2 separate regions of the Homo sapiens genome follow, and region 2 is linked to region 1. The links are contacts of gene promoters, found by promoter capture Hi-C in human tissues and cell types (Jung and others, 2019). All regions are on one chromosome and are shown on one strand. Each heading gives the region's core, a stretch centred on a gene start or on the middle of the fragment in contact. The rest is flanking DNA. Distances are from core to core; before and after follow the strand shown. Region 1 holds the start of VKORC1L1 (vitamin K epoxide reductase complex subunit 1L1). Region 2 overlaps LOC105375336 (a long non-coding RNA gene).

Region 1 (5,441 bases), core at 1,836-4,335:
TTTTACTGGCTGTACATGGTAGAATTGAAAAATCAGCATTTCTATTGTAGCCTACTAATTTCGGTGAAATATTTCTTTAGAAATATAAAATCTGGAACTTTCCATCATTATGCCTCCCCAAAATAATAGAGGACTTTACACACAGATAACACCTGCCTCTCAAGATTCTCTCATTAATCTCTACCTTACCGTGTTTGGATTAAGACACAGGGCTTGCGAAATGAGAATAAAGTGAGTTTGAGCAATCCAAAACCACGTGCTGACTCTGGATCCTGGAAGATGATTTTCTTCAGAATCTTTGTCTGTTAACTTTCCTCTGGGCTCAAACTTTCTTTTCCTAAAAGAGTCACATATTTGAGTACTACTGCTACATGGCAATCACCACTCAAAAAAAACTAACTTGAGGTGTCCAATAATCAGCTTTCATTTAAAGTCTGTTTCAGGCTAGGCGCGGTGGCTCACGTCTGTAATCCCAGCACTTTGGGAGGCCGAGGAGGGCGGATCACGAGGTCAGGAGATCGAGACCATCCTGGCTAACATGGTGAAACCCCGTCTCTACCAAAAATACAAAAAATTAGCAGGGCGTTGTGGCGGGCGCCTGTAGTCCCAGCTACTCAGGAGGCTGAGGCAGGAGAATGGAGTGAACCCGGGAGGTGGAGGTTGCAGTGAGTCGAGATCGCACCACTGCACTCCAGCCTGTGTGACAGAGCAAGACTCCGTCTCAGAAAAAAAAAGAAAAGTGTCTTTCAGCTTGACAAAATAAAAACTTTCAATGATGTTTTGTCTACACACTTCCAAAAGAAAATGAGTCTATATATGTACATATATGTGATTATATATGTATATATACATATGTGATTTTGATCAGCCTGCATATAAACTACCTGCAAAACAAGTTGATTTGTAAATTCATTTATTAAATGGGTAGTTTATAAGCTACTTGATTTTTGCAAGTAGTTTATAAACAGGCTGATCAAATTGAACAAATTTCTTAATTTCACTGTATACATGGCAAATAAGTTATCTACTCTTCTTATTAGCAAATCTTATTTTTACCTACCCTCCTTTGGCAAGCATCTAAGTTAAACTATTTTATGTCCACAGCTACACAATGAAACATCACTTTCAGTCACAACATATTAAATTCACATTTAAAACTATAAAGAGATCCAGTTACCTTTAGTCTTACATGTACTTATACATACTTTTAATATACTACTTGATGTTTTATGCACAAACATGCAGCTCTTGCAGGATATAACTATGAGAATATTTAGAGTGTATGCTAAATACACTTTTTTAAAGACAAGTCAATTTTTAAAAATTATTTATTTATATTTTATTTATTTATTTGAGATGGAGTCTCATTCTGTTGCCCAGGCTGGGGTGCAATGGTGTGGTCTTGGCTCACTGCAACCTCTGCCTCCCAGGTTCAAGCAATTCTCCTGCCTCAGCCTCCCGAGTAGCTGGGACTATAGGCACATGCCACCACACCCAGCTAATTTTTGTATTTTTGGTAGAGACGGGGTTTCACCATGTTGGCCAGGCTGGTCTTGAACTCCTGACCTCATGATCCACCCGCCTCGGCCTCCCAAAGTGCTGGGATTACAGGCGTGAGCCACTGTGCCCGGCCAAGAAAAGTCAATTTTAAGCACTTAAGCAGGCCAGGCGCGGTGGCTCATGCTTGATTCCCAGCACTTTGGAAGGCAGAGGTGGGTGGATTACCTGAGGTCAGGAGTTCGAGACCAGCCTGACCAATATGCTGGTCTCGAATATGCTAATAGGCAACAACGTTTAAAAGTCATTCCAATGCCTAAAACACCACCATATACATAACATACTTGTCCTTTACTCCAATGAAGCTTAAACTAGACCCAAACTCAGACCATTTCCTTCTCCTGGCACACTGAAACATACGAGAGGGAATCCAAGAAATCAGATATGTTAAGTGCGGGTATCTTCTTCCACAGTAGGGTCAAATTCGTGTTTGCCAGCAAATGTCACCGTCCCAGTTAAGTCTGCAAATTCTCACTAGCGCTGGAGTACAAAGAGGCCTGACCACGGAAACACCTGTCCTAGCACCAGGAAGACAGTGGGAAAGGCAACCCCCCTGTCTCCGCGCCGGCCCCAAAGCCTCGGCTGCAGCGATCGGGGGGACAAGAGGTTGCCGCTGGTCTCAAGGGTGCGGTGGACAAGGTCCCACACCCCCGGCCCGCCTCCCGAGAACCAGGAAACCTGTCAAGCCAGCCTGGACCCACCCTCCGCAGCCCCCTCGCGCTCCTGCACAGCCGGGCCCCAGCCCGCCCGACCGCTCCGCGTCCGCCCCGGCCTCCCGGCTGCACTCTGCCACCTCATCCCTCCCCGGCTGCCTCGCGGCCCCGCCACCTCCGCCCCGCGGCCTGGGCTCAGGCCGCCCCCCGGGCAGGAGCGCCCCGCCGCCGCCCCCCGCCTGGCCCCGACCCGACCCCGTCAGTTCCCCAGCGGCCCGGTCCCCGCCGCCCCCAGGCCTGAGCTCCCGCCGCGCGCTCCCCACCCCGAGACTCCACCCTCGCCCCGCTCGGCCGCTCCTGGCCCACTCCCCCAAGCCGGCTACCTGGAGGCAAGGGCGGCGGAGCACTTCACCCAGGGCCCCAGGTCGCAGAGGGCCCGGTGCTCGGGGTCCCGCTCCTTCTCCCGCTCCACGTGGTAGGCGTAGATGGAGAGCAGGATTCCGGCAGCGCACACTGCATACCGGGCCACCCGCTCCCACCGCGGCACCGACACTCTTAGCAGGACGGGAGCCGCCATCTTCCCGCCGCCGCCGCCGCCGCCTCCCTCCGCCTCCACCTCAGCCGCCGCCGCCCGTCGGGGCCCGACCCAGCCGCCACCGCCGCCACCGCCGCCTCCGCCGCCGCCGCCACCACCGCCGCCGCCGCCGCCGCGCCCCATTGGCTCGGTGGCCTGCTCCGGGCCCCGCCCCCACAGGCGCGCGGCCCAACCGCCCCAAAAGGAGTGAGGCGGACGGGGCGGGGAAGGCGCGCGCGGGCGCGGAGGGAGGGGGTGGAGTGCGCAACGGCCGAAGAGGCCGGATCGGCGGGCGGAGACTGAGGCGGCGTGGCGCTGCGCCGCGCGGCCGGTCGCGCGCGAGGGGTGGAGCCCGGGGGAGAAAGGGGTGGGGCAGGGGTGGGGATGGGCGGGGCAGGGGTGGGGAGGGGCGGAGCCAGAGAGGGGCGGGGCCGAGCGGGCCAGTGCGGGAGGGACTTAAAGGAGCGGTCTAACTAGCACATTGCAAGGATGCCACTGTGGGTGACTGGGCGAACCCTCGGCCCCTCCCTCTGGGGATGGCAATCAATTGCCATCCTTTTTCCCTTTTTCGTTGTATATTTCTGACCCAATCCAAATCAACCCTGGCCAATGCTTGGAGCTCCAGAGACCCACACCTATGACCTGATCTTCCCACCACCACCTTCGGTTAGACCTGTGCAAAACTTTTTTTTTAATGTGCAAAACTATGTTTTAAATTTAAAAACTATTTTTAAAAAATGATTTATGGACCGGGTACAGTGGCTTACACCCGTAATCCCAACACTTTGGGAGGCCGAGGCAGGTGGATCACTTGAGGTCAGGAGTTCGAGACCAGCCTGGCCTACATGGCGTAACCGCGTCTCTACTAAAAATACAAAAAACAAACAAAAACAAATTAGCCCGGTGTCGTGGTGGGCGCCTGTAATCCCAGCTACTCGGGAGACTGAGGCATGAGAATTGCCGGAACCCGGGAGGTGGAGGTTGCAGTGAGCCAAGATCGTGCCACTGCACTCCAGCCTGGGCGATAGAGTAAGAGTCTCAAAAAAAAAAAGAGAGATTTACGAATGCCTTGCTTTTCCGTAAGCTGAATTTGAAGTTGCTTACCATAACTCATATAATATAGAAAAATAAAGATGAGCTAATACAATCAGGACGAAGAAAAAGAAAAGTCAGAATAAAATGAAAGGCCAGGAATAAGAACACAGATAAGCAGGCCATAGGGGCTTACATAGTTATTAAAATTGCATCATAAATTTGGCTCTGAGCTTCCTGGTGGCCAAAACTAAAAGGAAAACAGATGTATGTGCTTTTTCTCACTGTCTTTAAGAAGAAACACAGGGTTCTTGGAGATTTTCAGTGTTTCCCTGGTTGCAGCTTTCAATTTTTCAGGGGCTTTATATAGTGATTTTGAATAATAAGCAATATCCTTGTATTCGTTATCTATTGTTGGGTAAAAATCACCCCAAATTTAGCAGTTAATAAACAATAAACTTTTTTTTCCCTCACAGTTTCCACGGGCTAGGAATCTGGGTGAGGTTAGCTGTGTCCTCTGGCTCAGGCTCTCATGAGGATACAATCAAGCTGTCAGCCAGGGCTGCAGCTCTCTCAAGGCTTCAGAATCCTCTTTCAAACTCACTTCCACTGCTGCTGGCAGGCCTGAGGTCCTCTCTGGCTGTTGGCTGGAGACATCATTTCCTGTCCACTTGCACCTCTTGGTAAGAAGCGGCAGGCTTACCCCAGGGAGAGGGAGGAGAAAGAGGAAGAGACAGAAAAAGAAAATGAGAGTGAGATCACAGTCCTTTTTTGAAACCTAATCCCAGAAGTGACATCCCATCACTTTTACGAAGTCTATTGCTACTTAGAAAATAGTCTCTAGGTCCAGCCAGTCATGGTGGCTCACACCTGTAATCCCAGAATTTTGGGAGGCCGAGGTGGGTAGAGCACCTGAGGTCAGGAGTTCGAGACCAGCTGACCAACATGGTGAAACCCCGTCTCTACTAAAAATACAAAAATTAGCCGGATGCGGTGGCACATGCCTGTAAACCCAGCTACTTGGGAAGCTGAGGCATGAGAATCACTTGAACCTGGGAGGTGGAGGTTGCAGTGAGCCAAGCTCACACCATTGCACTCCAGCCTGGCTTACAAGGAAAAACTCCATCTCAAAAAAAGAAGAAAAAAAAGAAAGAAAGAAAGAAAAAGAAAATAGTCCCTAGGTCCAGCCCATGCTCAGAGGGAGAGGATTACACAGGACATGAATATGAGGAAGCTATCTACCACAGTCCTCAAAAACATCCTTGCTCTGCCCAGGTGGGGTGGCTCACAACACTTTGAGAGGCTGAGGCAGGAGGATTGCTTGAGGCCAGCAGTTCAAGACCAGCCTGAGCAACATAGGGAGCCCTGGTCTCTGCAAAAATATATACAAAATTAGCAAGGTGTGGTGCATGCCTGTTGTTCCAGCTACTTGGGAGGACTGACTGAGCCCAGAGGGCTTGGGGCAGGGGTGTGGATTGAGGCTGCAATGAGCCAACGTTGCCCCACTGCACTCCAGCCTGGATGACAGAATGACACACTGATTAAGAAACAAAAACAAAAAACAAAAACCTCACTCTACATCCCTAATGATTTTAATAAATCTAAGTAGACTCCTGCAACTTCCC
Region 2 (5,756 bases), core at 574-3,073, 160 kb before region 1:
GCCCACAGCTAGCTAAACCATGTTGGACTTAAGACATTTCTCAGTTTCAGTTTTAGGTGGTAGTCCCCAAATTCTAAAAGCGGACTACTACATCTTGACAGGAATTCTTTTTTTTTTTTTTTTTTTTTGAGACAGAGTCTCTCTGTGTTGCCCAGGCTGGAGTGCAGTGTCGCGATCTCGGCTCACTGCAAGCTCTGCCTCCCCGGTTCATGCCATTCTCCTGCCTCAGCCTCCCGAGTAGCTGGGACTACAGGCACCTGCCACCACGCCCGGCTGATTTTTTTTTGTATTTTATTGATTGATTGATTGATTGATTGTAGAAACGGGGTTTCACCATGATAGCCAGGATGGTCTTGATTTCCTGACCTCATGATCCGCCTGCTTCGGCCTCCCAAAGTGCTGGGATTACAGGTGTGAGCCACCGTGCCTGGCCCCCAACTTGACAGGAATTATTATTATTATTATTATTATTATTAAGACGGAGTCTCGCTCTGTCGCCCAGGCTGGAGTGCAGTGGCGTGATCTTTGCTCACTGCAAACTCCGCCTCCTGGGTTTATGCCATCCTCCTGCCTCAGCCTCCTGAGTAGCTGGGACTACAGGCGCCCGCCACCACACCTGGCTAATTTTTTGCATTTTAGTAGAGACGGGGTTTCACTGTGTTAGCCAGGATGGTCTCAATCTCCTGACCATGTGATTCGCCCGTCTTGGCCTCCCAAAGTGCTGGGATTACAGGTGTGAGCCACAGCGCCCGGCAGATGGGAATTCTTTTACAGATATTTGATACCCAGAAAGGGGTGTGAGCCCAGACTGATAACTTACTTTTCTTTTTCAGGAAGGATGTCGATTCTGCGCTTCTCAGTAACTACGTGGTAAATTGAACTGTTACATTTTCCTCTCTGATAATTTGCCCTTTGCTTGTAAGATTGTTGAATTGATTTTGGTTAGAAATGACTGAATTCAGACTAGGTGCAATGGCTCACGCCTATAATCCCAGCACTTTGGGAGGCTGAGGCAGATGGATCACTTGAGGTCAGGAGTTCGAAACCAGGCTGGTCAACATGGTGTAACCCCATCTTTACTAAAAATACAAAAATTAGCCAGCTGTGGTGGCACGTGCCTGTAGTCCCAGCTCCTTGGGATCCCAACTGAGGTAGGAGGATCACTTGAACCTGGGAGGGGGAGGTTGCAATGAGCCAAGATCACGCCACTGCACTCCAGCCTGGGCAATAGAGCCAGGCTCTGTCTCCAAAAAAAAAAAAAAAAAAAAGGATGTAGTTGAATTTTCCACTTCAAAACAAGACATGTGGCACCATCTAGTGGACCTTGGAATAGTCTAAGCTTTATATGTTATACGTATACGTAGTACTTCAGGGAAGCTGGGAAGACTCTAATTCAGAGCAGGCAAATTTCAGTAAATCTCAAAGATTCTAGATAATCATTTGGGATGTAGTCATAGGATAGAAGCATCTATTTTAGAGCTGTTTCTGCAAAATTTCCCATTGAAATATTTATGCTTTTTCCTAATTATCACCCTTGATATATTTATATATTTATAATGCTTTTATACATTGTTATTTTAATCTTCAAATAGTCTTTTGGGTATTAACATTGTTATTTTGAAAGTGAGTTTAGTTGACTCACCTTTCTGAATAGTAGAAATTAACAAATTTATAATTTTTGGGGCCTAGGGTGGGGTTCCCAGGGAAAGGAAAAGAAGGAAAAAGATTGGTAAGACGGAAGATATTCCAGCATTTTTGCCTCCTATTTGGCACTAGCAAAACCATCTGATAGGCTCACTCCAGGTGTAGAAAGAACCATTTATACCTTGACTGTGAATTTTCCATGTGCTAGAGTCTAAACTCAGGAAGACTCAGAGGAGGTCTAGAAGGTAGTAGCTTAAGTGCTGTGGCTCATGCCTGTAATCTCAGCACTTTGGAAGGCCAAGGAGAGAAGACTGCTTGAGGCTATGAGTTAGAGATCAGCCTGGGAAACCTAGCAAGACCCCCAGCTCTTAAAAAAATAAATTAGCTGGGCATGGTAGCAAACACCTACTATGGTCCTAGCTACTTGGAAGGCAGAGGGGAGGTTTGCTTCAGCCCAGGAGTTTGAGGTTACAGTGATGACCACTGTACTCTAGCCTGGGAGACAGCCTTTGGGACCCTGTCCCCTAAAAAAAGCTCCCAGAGTGGAAGACAGCAAAAAGAAAGAAACCGCCTCCCTTCCACATCCCCCCAAAAGAAAAGAAGGTAGTAGAATAAACAGAGTTGGCCATATTCTTTCCTCTCTAAAGGCTCAGTCTCAAGTGGTTGCAGCTTAGAACAGGAAGGAAATGGTTGAATGGTTTTTGGCCAAGCCTTTGGCTTTTAGGAGCCTCCTTGTCCAGTTTGGACTTTGCTAGGCGTTTGGGTGTTTTATCCATTGGGGAAACATTGCATTCATTGATCTCATGCCACTATTTCTGAAAGGAACAGCAGATGAGAGGGGTCGCATTGTATTTAGTGATGGTGTGTGAGCCTGCATTTTCTTCACTTCTGTGGTAGAATCTCTAAAACAGGAATGAGACTGAGATTCCCCCCTGCCTCCAGCACTCTAATGCATGCATGTTTTATCCTTGTGGGGAAAGTTTGCTTCTAAAAATCCATAGCATTTTTTCCTCCCCTTTTTTTGGTAAACTCTGTCTTATCACTTGCTTCAAAATTTTTCTTTTCCAGAAAGAAATTATTATGTTAGATTTTTTTTTTTTTTTTTTTTTTGAGATTGAGTCTCACTCTGTCGCCCAGGCTGGAGTGCAGTGGCATGATCTCGCCTCACTGCAAGCTCCACCTCCCGGGCTCATGCCATTCTTCTGCCTCAGCCTCCCGGGTAGCTGGGACTACAGGCGCCCGCCACCACGCCCGGCTAATTTTTTTTGTATTTTTAGTAGAGATGGGGTTTCACCGTGTTAGCCAGGATGGTGTCGATCTCCTGACCTCGTGATCCGCCTGCCTTGGCCTCCCAAAGTGCTGGGATTAAAGGTGTGCACCACTGCACCTGGCCTATGTTAGATTTTTATACTAGAGAAGCAGAATTCTTTTTTAACAAAATATTTGTTTTAAGAAAATTTGCTTTCAAATAGTATATTTTTGAGATCAGAGGAGATTAGTGATGTGTATATTCATAGGAAATGTTTGAAATTGTTTTTTTTTTTTTGAGATGGAGTCTTGCTCTGTTGCCCAGGCTGGAGTGCAGTGGCGTGATCTCAGCAACCTGCAACCTCTGCCTCCCAGGTTCACGCCATTCTCTTGCCTCAGCCTCAAGAGTAGCTGGGACTACAGGTGCCTGCCACCACGCCTGGCTAATTTTTTGTATTTTTAGTAGAGATGAGGTTTCACCATTTTAGCCAGGATGGTCTTGATCTCCTGACCTCATGATCCGCCCGCCTCAGCCTCCCAAAGTGCTGGGATTACAGGCATGAGGCACCGCACCTGGCCATATTTGAAATATTTTAGGTAAATTAATGAATTTGGATTATTTGGCTTATATAAAAGAGCATTTTTTTAATGTCATATGCCTCTGGGACTCATATTTGCTCAAATCCAAGAATTGGAAGCTGCGTAATGGGCGGGTGAAAGGAAGTACTACAGTTTCCTGTTTATCCTTCAAAACCACTGACCTTAGATAGATATATTTCTCAAATTTATTCATAAACTTCTTTTGTGTATCTTCTCCTGGGTGTTTCATTTACTAACTGATCTGAAAGAGCAGCGTAAAGAAAGTGGAAAGAATAAACACAGCTCTGGGCAACAGAACTTGAACACTATCACCTATGAAGTAAGGCTGGGCTTCTGCCAGGCCTACCTAAAGTACCATTGAGGGAGGGGGGTTTATTCTCCCAACGACTGGCTGCTGAAATCAAGATCGCCTTTTATCTGATTTGAATACTTTTACTGTAACCTGATTTTTATTCTGTTTATAAAAGTGGGAGGAGTTTGGTCAAGTGTAGTGTTTAGCCAGCTACAAAGTTAGAAGGAATAGTCTAAAAGATTGCTCTCACTTCTCCTTGAAAGGGAATCACTGCTCACTGCAGCCTCAACCTCCCAGGCTCAAGTGGTGCTCCGAGCTCAGCTTCCCAAGTAGCTGGGAATATGGGTATGCACTGCCATGCCTGGCTAATTTTTTTGTTGTTGTCCAGGGTGGTCTTGAATCCCTGGGCTCAAGGGATCTTCTCACCGCATCTTTCCAAAGTGCTGGGGACTTAGACACTTAAGGCTATTGTTTATTTTTCAAGTTTCAGATTCTTCCCAAAATATGTAATTATAATTCCTCTCAAATTATATCTGTATTCTTCTTCAAAAGCCACAAATTCTGTGTAATCATGAGAAAATATCAGACCATTGCAAATCAATTTTAAAAAAACACCTTTTATTTTGAAATCATTTTTCTTTTTTTTTTTTGGAGATGGAGTCTCCCTCTTGTTGCCCAGGCTGGAGTGCAATAGCACGATCTTGGCTCACCACAACCTCCGCCTACCAGGTTTAAGTGATTGTCCCGCCTCAGACTCCTGAGTAGCTGGGATTACAGGCATGCGCCACCTCGCCTGACTAATTTTGTATTTTTAGTAGAGATGGGGTTTCTCCATGTTAGTCAGGCTGGTATCGAACTCCCAACCTCAGGTGATCCGCCGATCTTGGGCTCCCAAAGTGCTCGAATTATAGGTGTGAGCCACTGCGCCCAGCCATTTTTCTCTTACATAAAAGTTGTAGAGACAGGTGCTGGGAGTTCTTGTGTACCCTTCCCATAGTTTTCTCCGATGTTAACATCTTACATAACCATGGTCTATACCATGAAAAACCAAGAAATTAACATTGGTACATACTATTAAACTAAGCTAAAATTTTATTTGAATACCTTGTTTTCCCACTGCTGTTTTCTGAGTTCCAGGATTCAGTTCAGGATACCATTTTTTTTTTTTTTTTTTTTTTTTTTTTTTTGAGAGGGAGTCTCTCTCGCTCTGTCGCCCAGGCTGGAGTGCAGTGTCATGATCTCGGCTCACTGCAAGCTCCGCCTCCCAGGTTCACGCCATTCTCCTGCCTCAGCCTCCCGATAGTAGCTGGGACTACAGGCGCCCGCCACCACACCTGGCTAATTTTTTGTATTTTTAGTAGAGACGGGGTTTCACCGTGTTAGCCAGGATGGCCTCAATCTCCTGACCTTGTGATCCACCTGCCTCGGCCTCCCAAAGTGCTGGGATTACAGGTGTGAGCCACCGCACCTGGCTCAGGATACCATTTTATATTTAGTTAACATGTTCCCATAATGTCATTTGTTCTGTGTCCTTACTCTTCCTTTGTCTTCCTTGACACTTGTGAAGGGCTGGTCAAGTATTTTGTAGAACGTCCCTTGATTTGTGATTGTCTGACGTTTTCTTATGATTACACAGAACCTGTGGCTTTTGAGGAAGAGTACCACAGAGGTGATCTCCCCTTCTCGTGTCCTGATATCTCAGGGTACATGATATCGATGTTTCTTTCTTTTTTTTTTTTTTTTTTGAGATGGAGTCTCTCTCTGTTTCCCAGGCTGGAGTGCAGTGGCACAGTTTTGGCTCACTGCAACCTTCACCTCCTGGATTCATTCCATTCTCCTGCCTCAGCCTCCCGAGTGGCTGGGACTACAGGTGCCGGCCACCATGCCCGGCTAATTTTTTGTATTTTTTTAGTAGAGACGGGGTTTCACCGTGTTAGCCAGGATGGTCTCAATCTCCTGACCTCGTGATCCG

The links. Contacts are between HindIII fragments. The study calls those that stand out against the background at their distance.
Region 2: a contact is called between a fragment that was not itself captured here and the fragment with the promoter of VKORC1L1 in region 1, in 1 of the 25 tissues and cell types used here (liver).

What each region holds. Positions count from the first base shown.
Region 1 is chr7:65,870,718-65,876,158 of GRCh38, reverse strand. It overlaps VKORC1L1 (vitamin K epoxide reductase complex subunit 1L1), which reads right to left and starts at 3,085. Exons shown (of 3, transcript NM_173517.6): 1 at 2,594-3,085. The coding sequence starts at 2,787. RefSeq lists enhancers at 1,584-2,135, 2,687-3,238 and silencers at 2,304-2,373, 2,921-3,100, 2,814-3,313, 3,334-3,393. The HindIII fragment of the contact is 24,487 bases long and covers 1-5,441 here.
Region 2 is chr7:66,026,614-66,032,369 of GRCh38, reverse strand. LOC105375336 (a long non-coding RNA gene) reads left to right here. Exons shown (of 5, transcript XR_002956511.2): 3 at 834-870. It also overlaps the pseudogene LOC100419772. Among named protein-coding and RNA genes, the nearest start is that of ASL, 46 kb to the left of the region's middle. The HindIII fragment of the contact is 3,671 bases long and covers 1-3,658 here.